3 separate regions of the Homo sapiens genome follow, and regions 1 and 3 are each linked to region 2. Evidence: promoter capture Hi-C in 16 types of primary human blood cells and fetal thymus (Javierre and others, 2016). All regions are on one chromosome and are shown on one strand. Each heading gives the region's core, a stretch centred on a gene start or on the middle of the fragment in contact. The rest is flanking DNA. Distances are from core to core; before and after follow the strand shown. Region 1 overlaps TRV-CAC1-1 (tRNA-Val (anticodon CAC) 1-1). Region 2 holds the start of FCRLA (Fc receptor like A). Region 3 overlaps NDUFS2 (NADH:ubiquinone oxidoreductase core subunit S2).

What was found. Contacts are between HindIII fragments. The CHiCAGO score rates a contact against its expected background, and 5 or more counts as called.
Region 1: a contact is called between a fragment that was not itself captured here and the fragment with the promoter of FCRLA in region 2, in 1 of 17 cell types (total B cells). The highest score is 5.7, in total B cells.
Region 3: a fragment that was not itself captured here is called in contact with the fragment with the promoter of FCRLA in region 2 in 1 of 17 cell types (naive B cells); the score reaches 5.7 in naive B cells.

The regions. Positions count from the first base shown.
Region 1 is chr1:161,395,849-161,399,746 of GRCh38, reverse strand. TRV-CAC1-1 (tRNA-Val (anticodon CAC) 1-1) reads left to right here; the gene lies at 1-47. Among named protein-coding and RNA genes, the nearest start is that of TRV-CAC1-1, 2.0 kb to the left of the region's middle. RefSeq lists a silencer at 2-81 and enhancers at 1-414, 422-561. The HindIII fragment of the contact is 5,595 bases long and covers 1-3,898 here.
Region 2 is chr1:161,705,164-161,709,387 of GRCh38, reverse strand. FCRLA (Fc receptor like A) reads right to left here and starts at 2,159. Exons shown (of 5, transcript NM_032738.4): 1 at 2,045-2,159. The coding sequence starts at 2,123. RefSeq lists enhancers at 1,684-1,863, 3,404-3,623. The HindIII fragment of the contact is 3,109 bases long and covers 1,303-4,224 here.
Region 3 is chr1:161,206,797-161,210,880 of GRCh38, reverse strand. NDUFS2 (NADH:ubiquinone oxidoreductase core subunit S2) reads right to left here. Exons shown (of 14, transcript NM_001377299.1): 4 at 1,568-1,688; 5 at 1,286-1,398; 6 at 950-1,024; 7 at 693-770; 8 at 492-577; 9 at 171-290. Among named protein-coding and RNA genes, the nearest start is that of FCER1G, 6.5 kb to the left of the region's middle. The HindIII fragment of the contact is 667 bases long and covers 1,490-2,156 here.

The sequences.
Region 1 (3,898 bases), core at 616-3,115, 310 kb after region 2:
TTCGCCTCACACGCGAAAGGTCCCCGGTTCGAAACCGGGCGGAAACAAAGTGGTTCCCGTTTTTGTTTTTTTCCTTCCCCATATCCTTTCGAATTCTACGTAAGAATTCGCCCAGATCGCAGTGAGATCCCGGAACTCTAGGTCCGAGGAGAGTTGGAAGGACTGAAGGGCAGACCCCAGCAGCCGAGCGGCTCTCGACAACGGGCTCGGAGCCGGCGGCGCCCCTGGCGGCTGTGGGCGACTGGGTCCCTCCGGAGCCGTGAGACCTTTTGATATCATCAGGCACCGTGTCGCGGTTCCGCCCTGTCAGTTTTTGTGTCTTTTCTGACACCCAGAAGGAACTTCGGACACACTGGGAACCGGAAATGGCTGCTCAGTGAATGAAGTCGTCACTTCCGACCCGGACCCCTGAGGAGCAAGTTGTAGTTCAGGGCCTAGTCCTGAACGGCCGGTCCTTTTTTCAGACCCTGCTCAGGCTCTGGCTCTGGCTCCGGCTCCGGCCTCTTCGGCCGAGACTGCGATGGGTCGGTTTCCTCCACATAGTTTACAAACCTGTATACAGATCCAAGAGTGCGCTGGTGATTATCTCGCTTTGCGCTGATTGCCGGTATCATTAACTCAGTAGTCCAGAGGAACGAAACGAACGTGGTGACGGAGCGGGGATCACAACTCGCTCTGCTCTGTCACCCCCCCAAACTTGTCTTTACTGTGTTTATTTTCTCATTTGTCACCATCCAGTTCTCAGTCACGAAAATGTTAGTTCTTTCTCTTTCCTTTCAAGATTTTTAGGTTCTAAATCAGGTGGAAAGAATGTACATTTTTAATTAAAAGATTTTCACAATTCTCCTAAAAGGAGGACAAACAATTTGAACAGACACTTGATTAAAAAAAAGATATATGGGGCTGGGCGCGGTGGCTCACGCCTGTAATCCCAGCACTTTGGGAGGCTGAGGTGGGTGGATCACGAGGTCAGGGTGTTCCAGACCAGCCTGACCAAGATGGTGAAACCCCGTCTCCACTAAAAATATAAAAATTAGCTGGGCGTGGTGGCGGGTGCCTGTAATCCCAGCTATTCAGGAGGCTGAGGCAGGAGAATTGCTTGAACCAGGGAGGCGGAGGTTGCAGTGAGCTGAGATCGCGCCACTGCACTCCAGCCTGGGCTACAGAGCGAGACTCCATCTCAAAAAAAAAAAAAAGATATGTGGATTGCAAATAATCACATGGAAAGATGTCCAACGTCATTAATCATTAGGGAAACGCAAATTTAAAACACAATGAGATACCACTACACACATATCAGAATGTCTAAAATTTAAAAGACTGACCATACCAAGTTGGCAAGGATGTGGAGAAACCGGAACACTCATTCACTGCTGTTGGGAATGTAAAATGGTACATTCACTTTGGAAAACAGTTTGGGGGTTTTTAAAAGCGTTAAACTACTACAATATGACTCAGCCATTCCACTCCTAGGTATTTACCAAGAGTAAATAGAGCATATGCCCATACAAACGCCTGTACACAAACATTCATAGCAGCTCTATTTGTAATAGCCCCAAACTGTAGACTATCCAAATGTCAATCAACAAGTGAAAGACCGATCCATACAATGGAATGTTACTCAGCCAAAAAAAGGACGGAACTGCTCACATATACAACAACATGAATCTCAAGTATGCTGAGTAAAAAAAGCCACTGCACCCAGCCTCCATTACAGCATTTTGAATTTAAAATAAAACATTTTTTGGCCAGGCGCGGTGTTTCACGCCTTTAATCCCAGCACTCTGGGAGGCTGAGGTGAGCGGATCGCTTGAGCCCAGGAATTTGAGACCAGCCTGGCCAACATGGCGAAACCCCGTCTCTACTAAAACTATAACAATTACCCGGGCGTGGTGGCCTGCGCCTGTAATCCCAGCTACTCCGGAGGCTGAGGCTTGAGACTCGCTTGAGCCTGAGAGGCGAAGGTTGTAGTGAGCGGAGATCCAGACTGGGCAACAGAGAGAATCTGTCTCAAAAAAAAAAAAAAAGTAGGCCCTATGAACTGTGCCTAACGTGTAAATCAGACCCGAATTGCGGTGATAATTTCCCAGGTGTATACACGTGTCAAAACTTGTACATTTTAAGTATGTTCAGTTTATTGTATGTCAGCTAAGCCTTAACATAGCTATGATTGTAGCAGGACAAGCCACAGACAAGAACCCCTCAGACACCGAGTTGTAGAAAGGGCTTTTTTCAGCTGGGAGCATCGGTGGACTCACGTCTCCAAAAACCGAGCTCCCCAAGTGAGCAATTCCTATCCTTTTTAAGGGCTTACAGCTCTAAGGGGGTCCGTGTGAGAGGGTCGTGATAGATTGAGAAAGCAGGGGGTACGTGACTGGGGGCTGCATGCACCGGTAATCAGAACGGAATAGAACTGGACAGGGATTTTCACGATGCTTTTCCATACAATGTCTGAAATCTATAGATAACACAAGCAGTTAGGTCAGGGGCTGATGTTTAACTACCAGGCGCAGGCGCAGAGCTGGGCTATCTGCCTGTGGATTCCATTTCTGCCTTTTAGTTTTTACTTCTTCTTTCTGTGGAGGTAGAAATTGGGCATAAGACAATATAAGGGGTGGTCTCCTCCCTTATTATAATTTCTTAGTATTTCCCAGAAAAAATAAAAAAGCCCAAATATTTGAAGGCTGTTTGGACTATTCATATAAAATACATGTCGACCATCCCAAATCTGAAAATCTGAAATCCAAAATATTCCAAAATCCTAACCTTTTTGGGTGCTGACAGGATGATCAAAGGAAATGCTCATTGGAGCACTTTGGATTACAGATTTTCAGATTTGAGATACTCAACTAGGGTGGGTATAATGCAAATATTCCAAAATCTGAAAAAAATCAAAATTTGAAACAATTCTGGTCCCAAGTATTTTAGATAAAGGATACTCAACCTGTACTTTTTTTTTTTTTTTTTTTTTGAGACAGAGTTTCGCTCTTGTCATCCAGGCTGGAGTGCAATGGCGTGATCTCGGCTCACTGCAACCTTGCTTCCCGAGTTCAAGCAATTCTCCTGCCTCAGCGTCCCAAGTACCTGGGATTACAGGCGCCCACCACCACACCCGGCTAATTTTTGTATTTTTAGTAAAGATGGGGTTTCGCCATGTTGGCCAGGCTGGTCTCAAACTACTGACCTCAGGAGATCCACCCGCCTCGGCCTCCCAAAGTGCTGGGGATTACAGGCGTGAGCCACCGCACCTGGCCAACCTGTACATATTTTTAAGGCTTTTTTTTTCTTTTTTTTAGACAGGGTCTTGCTTTGTCACCCAGGCTGCAGTGGCTAAATAATTTCTTTCTACCTCCTGTATCAGGACTACAGGCATGCACCAACAGGGCCTGCTCTCTCTGTCTCTCTTTCTCTCTCTCTCTCTCTCTCTCTATATATATATATATATATACTTTTTTTTTTTTTTTTTTGGTTTGGATATGGAGTCTTGCTCTGTCACCCAGGCTGGAGTACCATTGATCTCGGCTCACTGCAACCTCTGCCTCCTAGGATTACAGGTGCCCACCACCTCGCCTGGCTATTTTTTGCATTTTTAGTAGAGACGAGGTTTTGCCATGTTGGCCAGGCTGGTCTCAAACTTCTGACCTCAGGTGATCAACCCACCTTGGCCTCCCAAAGTGCTAGGATTACAGGCGTGAGCCACCACACCCGGCCGGGCCTGCTAATGTATAATTTTTAAAAATTAAAAATTAATTTAAACAGCTAAAGTTTAATTTTTAAACTTTTTTTGGTAGAAAGTGAGTCTCACTAAATTGCCTAGCTGGCCTTGAACTCTTGGCCTTAAGAGATCCTCAGGCTTTGACCTCCCAAAGTGCTGAGATTATAAGCATGAACCACCACA
Region 2 (4,224 bases), core at 910-3,409:
GGTTGAGGTGGGAGGATCCCTTGAGCCCAGGAGTTTGAGACCAGCCTGGGGAACATAGAGAGACCCTGTCTCAACAAATAATTTTTTAAAAAATTGGCCAGGCCTGGTGGCACTTGCCTGTGGTCCCAGCTACTTGGGAGGCTGAGATAGGACGATTGCTTAAGCCCAAGAGGTCAAGGTTGCAGTGAGCAGTGATTGCACCACTGCACTCCAGCCTGGGTGGCAGAGCGAGACCCTGTCTCAAAACATAAAATAAAATAAAATAAAATCTTGTTGGGTTACTGGGAACTCACTCAATAAACCTTAGGTGGTAGGTATTATTATTTTCATTCTACAAATGAGAAAACTGAACCAGAAATAGAAAAAGTGATTTTCTAAAGTGACATAGAGCTGGTAAATAGAAGAGGGGCTTGAAACAGGAGTATCTGATTCCAAGTCTGCAGTTCTTATCACAAGACAAAAACAAAAAAACATTGTCACTACCCACAAATAGCTCTCAATTTAGTGGAAGACACAGGTAGATGAAAATATTATTTCAGCATAAGTAGGAAAATATTATAATAAGAAAAATGTATCGCAAGCAGCCATTGGAGCAGAAAGAAGCATTCAAGAAAAGCTACCTGGAAAAGATACCATTTAAGCTGAGTCTTTAGGGGTACCTACACATTTGCAAGGAGAAGGAGAGTAGGGTGCCATGGAAAGAACTCATTTCAGGTAGAGATAGTGGTATAAGCAAAGCCTTAGAGACAGGCAAGAGTCTGGTGTGTGAGTATGTAAATATGAACTGATTGAGATTTATTAGAGCATAAGTTACAAGGCTGAGAGGGTAAAAGTAGAGGCTGCTTGGCCTTTTGTGCCATGATAAAGAATTTGGGCTGGTAAACTTGAGTTTTAGAAATTACTCTGTCTGCAGGGTACAGAATTCATTTCAAGAACACAAGGTTTGGACGAGGAGATTAGTTAGGAATTTACTGGAATAGCCCAAGTCATAGAGGATGAGGGCTTGTCCTAAGACATTAGTGATGATCCAGGCAAGGGACTGCTTCTATGAACAATTTAGAAGGTAAAATTGGCCAAACCTAATGATTGATCAGATTTAGAGAATGAAAAAGAAGGAAGAGTCTGGGTTGTTTCTGAGGTTTATGGCCTTGTAAGGGTAGATGCTGGTGTCATTAGCTGAGATCAGAAAGTGGAAAATGAATTAGATGAGGCAGGGGCCAAAAGGACAGATAAGTTCAACTCTAGTCACATGGTGCAGAGACACTTGTGAGATATGTAGGTAGATATGTCTGGTATGAAGCTTGATATTTGAATGTGAAGCTCAAAAGCATGGTTAGGGTTGGGGATATGATTTGGGACTCTTAAATACAGAGTTATAGTGGCAAAAATTAAACAGACAAATAAGCTCATGAAGGAGATTGTGTAAAGAAAGAGGAGTACAGAGGCAAGGCTATAACTATAGAGAACACTAGTGTTTAAGGGGAAGAGAAGAGAAGCTATTAAGGGATCAAGAGAAGTCCATGTAGTACAAGGAGAAAATGGTGCCATGGAAGCCAGGGTAGTAGAGAATGCAAGAAGGAGTAAGTGATCAACAGAGCCCAGTGCAGCAGAGAAGTCCAGCAGGATATGAACTGAAAAGCATGCCATAACCCAGTCAATATAGAGATCGTTGTGCCCTAGACAAAACCAATTCCAGTGGAAGCCAGGCTGCAAGCATTGAGGAGCGTGTGAGAAGTGAGGAAGTGGAGATAGCAAGTGCAAACTATTCTTTTAAGAAAACTTGTCTCACAAGTGAAAGAAAAGAGTTGAGATTAGAGCTAGAGAGGATATCATGATCAGAGGGGACTTTCAGGATGGAAGATTTTTATATTCAGAAAGTAATTCAATCCTGTACACCAAACTTTCTTATACCTACCCTTCTTATTCCACCTGAATACTGCTTCTTTGGAGGGCCAGAATTAGTCCATGTTTCTTTCCTTCTGGTCCTTTCTCCCAAGGTAAGCAAAGCTCCATTCCCACACCAATATTCAAATATTTTACTTACCCAGTAGCATCTGGGCCACCCAGAGCACACCAAGGGAAAGGTAGAGGGCCCAGGCCATGAGGACACAGCCCAGCTTCATGGTGACTGTGTTTAGGTCTCCTGCAACCCCAACACTGATTTTCTTCAACATGAAACCTCTCAGATTAGAAAAGAGGAAGTAAATTTAACTGTCTCATCTCCTTGCATCTGGGGTCTGTTTTCATTTTCTAGTTTGTAATTGGCTTTCATCATTCAGATTTGGCCAACACGCTTTCAGCATCATCTGCACCCTTAGGGCTATGACAAAATGGTAGCACTCTCAGCTGTTCAAGAATTTACTCACAGAGCTCAGGGGCCTGTCAAAGCATGTCATTGTCTGATAGCCAGCTGGCCTTCATGTACACTCTGGGAAAGGTCAGTGCAACAACCACCCTTTTCACTGGTGATGCAACTGGGGACAGAAGGTGGGATGTTGTTTGAAGGCCAATAGAAAATCACTGGAGAATCAATGATGAGAATTCAAATGTCCTGCCCATTCCAACACTTATATGTTTCTAGTGACTAGAAGGTAGCGAGACAGAGAAGGAAGATTAGTCACGGCACCAAGTTAGATATCAGATTAGTCTCTAGTAGGCTCTGACTATCCAAAGCCCACACAAATTTGCATGCAAATTTCTCTAGACTCGTGTCAGCTCTCTATTTCTGGAGCATGACTAAGTCTGCTCAGTCTCAGTGGAAATATGAGTACAAGGCAGGGAGAATCCACTGGGAAAGAGTAGAGGAAAAAGAAAATCTATTCCCAGAGGATCCAGCAGTCAGCTCAGGGCTTAGGCTCATAGCCAAAGCTCAGGCCACTGATCCTGAGGAAATTAGAGATAGGAGGCATCCGATATCTTGAGAAACCTGAGGAGACTCAGGAATAGGAGCAATATAGAGGCTACAGCCTCTCCCTTCCGTTCCAGATGGCCTCCTGGGAACCATTGTCCCTGCCTCTGAATGTTTGCTATTTGTTTGAGGCCTACTTAATGGTAGGGCCCATGTGTCTTTTCACAGTGGCCACATTCCTCCCCTTTCTGTCATCATAACACCCACCAGGCCTCCAGTAGGTTATTTGGAGATGAAATGAGCCATCAGAAATGGGGTAAGGTAGGCCAGGCACTGTGGCTCATGCCTCTGTAATCCCAGCACTTTGGGAGGCCAGGGTGGGCGGATCACTGGACTGGAGGTCAGGAGTTCAAGACCAGCCTGGCCAGTATGGTGAAACCCCATCTCTACTGAAAAAAAAAAAAAAAAATTAGATGGGCATGGTGGTGCATGGCTGTAGTCCCAGTTACTTCAGAGGCTGAGGCATGAGTATCATTTGAACCCAGGAGGCAGAAGTTGCAGTGAGCCAAGATTGCACCACTGCACTCTAGTGTGGGTGACAGAGCGAGACTCCATCTCACAAAAAAAAAAAAAAAGAGAGAGAGAGAAATGGGGGAAGGTAGTTTGGTCCTCCTTGAAGGCAGAGAGAGGGACAGTATGACCCTTCAACTGTGCAAAAACCACAGGTCAGAGCAGACATATCAACCACACGGGCATAAGAGAGTGGATCTTTCTGAGTCTAAAATAAGCATTTAGAATAAAATTTCCATTATCGAGAGGCATACGCTTCTGTGCAGGTGGCCCCAGGGAGTCCAGGGGTGGTTGAATATGGGTGCTGGGGAAGGCAGTGAGGCAGTAAGCCTTGCAGCTGATGTGATGTGAAGCCTCAGAAGAGGAAGAAAAGCCTAGCTAGCCTTAATAATTTTTTTTTTTTTTTGAGATGGAGTCTCTGTTGCCCAGGCTTGAGTGCAGTAGCGCGATCTCGGCTCACTGCAACCTCTGCCTCCAGGGTTCAAGCCATTCTCCTGCCTCAGCCTCCCGAGTAGCTGAGACTACAGGAGCGTGCCATCACGCCCGGCTAATTTTTTGAATTTTTAGTAGAGATGGGGTTTCACCCTGTTAGCCAGGATGGTCTTGATCTTCTGACCTCGTGATCTGCCCACCTCGGCCTCCCAAAGTGCTGGATTACAGGTGTACGAATTAAACAAATAAAATGTGTTTAGATGCATCGCCACTCCTAAAACTACATAAAACATAGACCCTCAGGGTTAGGCAGAGGCTAAGGGGCTTCTAAACAAATCATGATATCTTTCTCTTCTTATGTCACCCTTTCTCCT
Region 3 (4,084 bases), core at 574-3,073, 500 kb after region 2:
AAATAAGTAAGATTCCATATATGTGAAAGTGTTTTGAGAGCAACCTCGTCTAACACACACAAGAGCTCCCACAGACACTGAGAAGTAGGGTAAAGAAGGAAGTGGCAAAGAGAAGAGTGAGGCAGGGGAAACTAGCTGGAATATCAGCCAAGAAAGGATTGGGGCCTTACCTATCATAGCAGTCCCCTCGAGAACCAACAGGAACATCAAACTCAACCTGGTCGTAAACATCATAGGGCTGGGTCTTCCGCAGGTCCCACTGGATGCCTGAGCCCCGAAGCATCACTCCACTGTGGAGAGCATAATGGGAATAAGGGCCACTCTCCACAAACTAAGTAAGGAGGCTCCTTCTTCCTTAGCCTCCCTTGTTGATCCTTCACATTCAGGGTATGACTAGGAGGATGCCAACAAGTCTTCAAAGACAAGATATTAGGCTGGAACTCCCCCACTCCCACCCCCACTCCTACGGAGAGAAGTTGTATTCCCCTCACCTAAAACCATAGTTAAGTGCTTCTTCTGCTGTTACAACCCCAATGTCAATTGTCCGATTTCGCCAGATCCTATTGTTGGTCAGCAACTATTGATCAAGAAAACTGGTGTGTTAATACTCTTCCTCACACTCTTCAAATATCTCTGTATTTCTCTAGCCCTTCTTGTGGGGGAGAGATTTTTCCCATTGACTCCTAGCTTACCTCCTCCAACTCATCAAGCCGAAGAGAGAAGTTCTTAGAAAACTGATAAATGTCATCCATAAGCCCAAGGGGTAGGTCCTAGAAGCCAAACGGAAGTGCTACTGAATGTGGCATAGCCTTCACTAAGGAGAGCCCTCTCAGCACCCCCTCCCCCAGCGATACAGGTTTGGAGTTTCCATCATCCAGCACTGCCCTCCAGTGGCCACAGGGAAAATAGGCCTGGGCTGGACATTTGGGGAAGCCGGGGACCTGCTCACCTGGTGCACTCCTCCTGGCCGGATATAAGCAGCATGCATTCGGGCTCCAGACACTCGCTCGTAGAACTCAAACATCTTCATAGAACGTGCTGGGAATTAGTGTCAAAGTCCCAGGCCCCCAGGTCCTATGATGGCCTACTCCCCCACTTTCTGCCTTCTTGTGCCCAACCAACCCCTCATGATATAGTTTCTACAAATATAACCCAAGTTAAACATACCTTCCCCCTCTAAATGTTCTCCCATGTTCTCTCTCTTCTTTTAATCTCCTGTCTCCTTTATACCTTCTCTACTTCCTGCACTTCCTTCCCTATTCCTATCCTTTCCTCCCACTCTTACCTTCTCCCTTTCTTCAAACAGCCAGAAGAAAGGGGTCATGGCCCCAAGGTCCAGGGCATGTGTGGTCACAGCCATGATGTGGTTCAACAAACGTGTGATTTCTCCAAACAGCACTGTGAAGACAAGGAGAAGACAGGATATAGGAGCCAAGCACTGAGGCGGACAGAGAGGTCTGGGCAGAGCCTGGGGTCTGAACACTAAGCTTGGGTTCAACGGGGAAGTGGTGGAAAAGGCACTATGCTATGCTCACAGTGGGCCACAGAAAAAGTTGGGGGGACATACCTCGGATCCACTGTGCCCGAGGAGGAGGCCGGATGTTTAGCAACTTCTCCACAGCTAGAGAATAGGCCTGTTCGTTACACATCATGGACACATAGTCTAGCCGGTCAAAGTATGGAAGGGCCTGGGAAGAGGGAGGAATGTGGGTCACATCTAACAGGCTCAGGAGCCCACAGTCTGGCTGCCTGAAGCCTTGCTCTCAGTCGGCACCAGAAGTTGGTGCTGTATAAGCCTTTCTAGTCTCAGGAGCCCCAACAAGGCAGGTAAAAATATCCCAAAAACCAGTAGTATTCTAGTAAATGTTTAAAAACTGGCTCTCCAAAGTGAGGGAGGACTCTGATTTGTCATGTTTGCCAATTTCCATGGTAAAAATACTCCCACAATGGCCAATTTTAAGTTACCAATATCATGTAACTGAATGCAGCATTGGGAAGAATACCACACCATTATACAGTATTTCCACCATACAGACACATTCAAAGCAAATACCTCAAAGGCAGAGCATAGTAAAATGTGGTAAAATAATGAAGTGATGAGCTTTGAATATTTAATCTTACCTTTGCTTTTAATATAATGTATTAAATCATAAGCTTATATAAATTAATTTCTGACAATGGCTATGTTCAACAACTGGCTCACAAAACTCCTGAAAATTTAACAACTGCACTCTTGCAAGCCCGTATGAGCTAGCTCCAGGATACCACTGTCAAGAGTCCTTGGCCGGGCACGTGGCTCACGCCTGTAATCCCAACACTTTGGGAGGCCGAGGCGGGTAGATCACCTGAGGTCAGGAGTTTGAGACCAGCCTGACCAACATGGAGAAACCCCTTCTCTACTAAAAATACAAAATTAGCAGGGCGTGGTGGTGCATGCCTGTAATCCCAGCTACTTGGGAGGCTGAGGCAGGAAAATCACTTGAACCCAGGAAGCAGAGGTTGCAGTGAGACAAGACTATGCCACTGCATTCTAGCCTAGGCAACAAGAGCAAAACTCCATCTCAAAAAATAATAAAAATTTAAAAAACTGACATACTGGTCAGGCGCGGTGGCTCACACCTGTAATCCCAGCACTTTGGGAGGCCAAGTCAGGGTGGCTCATGAGGTCAGGAGTTTGAGACCAGCCTGGCCAACATGGTGAAACCCCATCTCTACTAAAAATATAGAAATTAGCTGGGCGTGGTGGTGAGTACCTGTAATCCCAGCTATTTGGGAGGCTGAGGAACGAGACTCGCTTGAACCTGGGAGGTGGAGTTTGCAGTGAGCCAAGATCACACTATTGCACTCCAGCCTGGGCAACAAGAGTGAAACTCCGTCTCAAAAAAAAAAAAAAAAAAAAAAAAATTAGCCAGGCATGGTGGTGCGTGCCTATAATCCTGGCTACTCTGGGGGCTGAAACAGAATTGCTTAAACTCGGGAGGCAGAGGTTGCAGTGAGCCAAGATCACGCCACTGCACTCCAGCCTGGGCGACAGAGCGAGACTCCGTAGGGAAAAAAACAAAACAAACAAAAAACTTCAGATACTGAAGGAGAAAGGCAATCAGTCTTAAGAGTATCTGGGAGGGTTTTTTTTTTTAATCTTTTTTTTTTTTGAGACACAGTCTTGCTCTGTTGCCCAGGCGCTGGAGTGCAGTAGCACCATCTTGGCTCACTGCAACCTCTGCCTCCCAGGTTCAAGTGATTCTCCTACAGGCGCACACCACCACGTCTGGCTAATTTTTGTATTTTTAGTAGAGATGGGGTTTCACCTTGTTGGCCAGGCTGGTCTCAAACTCCTGACCTCAAGTAATCCACCTGCTTCGACCTCCCAAAGTGCTGGGATTACAGGCGTGAGCCCGGCCAGAGTGAGGTATTTAAGGAAGACAGAGCATCAGGTAGAAATGGTCCTTCCTCCAGAATGCCAAAAAGCCAAGTCCTAGCTGTCTGCTGAACCAGCTTCAGCTTCCAGGAAGAGGGTGGAGCTAAGACGCTACTAGCTGGGACAGCCTGTTCTTATTCTGATGTCACTGTGACGGGGGCTAATGCTACAGGGGTTAACCCATAGACTCCAGGACCAGAAACTGTCATCGCCGAGGCTCTCTTGGGGAATCACATTCTAGTCACTGTTCACCCCGACACTGGGCTGGATCTAAATCCTAATCCTACCATCCTGTTATCAGGACCTTTCTTCATGACAGTAAGAAAAAAACTTCAGATTCCTATTAGAGATCCAACTCCTTCAAATCTGACCTTCATCATTTGGGTTATACAGTTCTCCTAAAAATGGCAAACTGTCATAAACCCTCTCTGAGTTGCTGTGACTCATTGAATGTTTTGAAAACAAACGTAGACAGCTGGAAGATACAAGAATCAGCTGTTAAACTTAGCGAGCTAATGTCTTTTCTCTTTCCCTGCCCCTAGGGACACTGGCTTTGACGCACTAGTCTAACGTAAGAGCAGGGAAACTGAGGCACTCAAGTAATGGCAAAGGGGCCTGCCAAAAAGTCAGCCAGAGAAAAGCTGAGTATAGCTCCAGCTTCAAAGC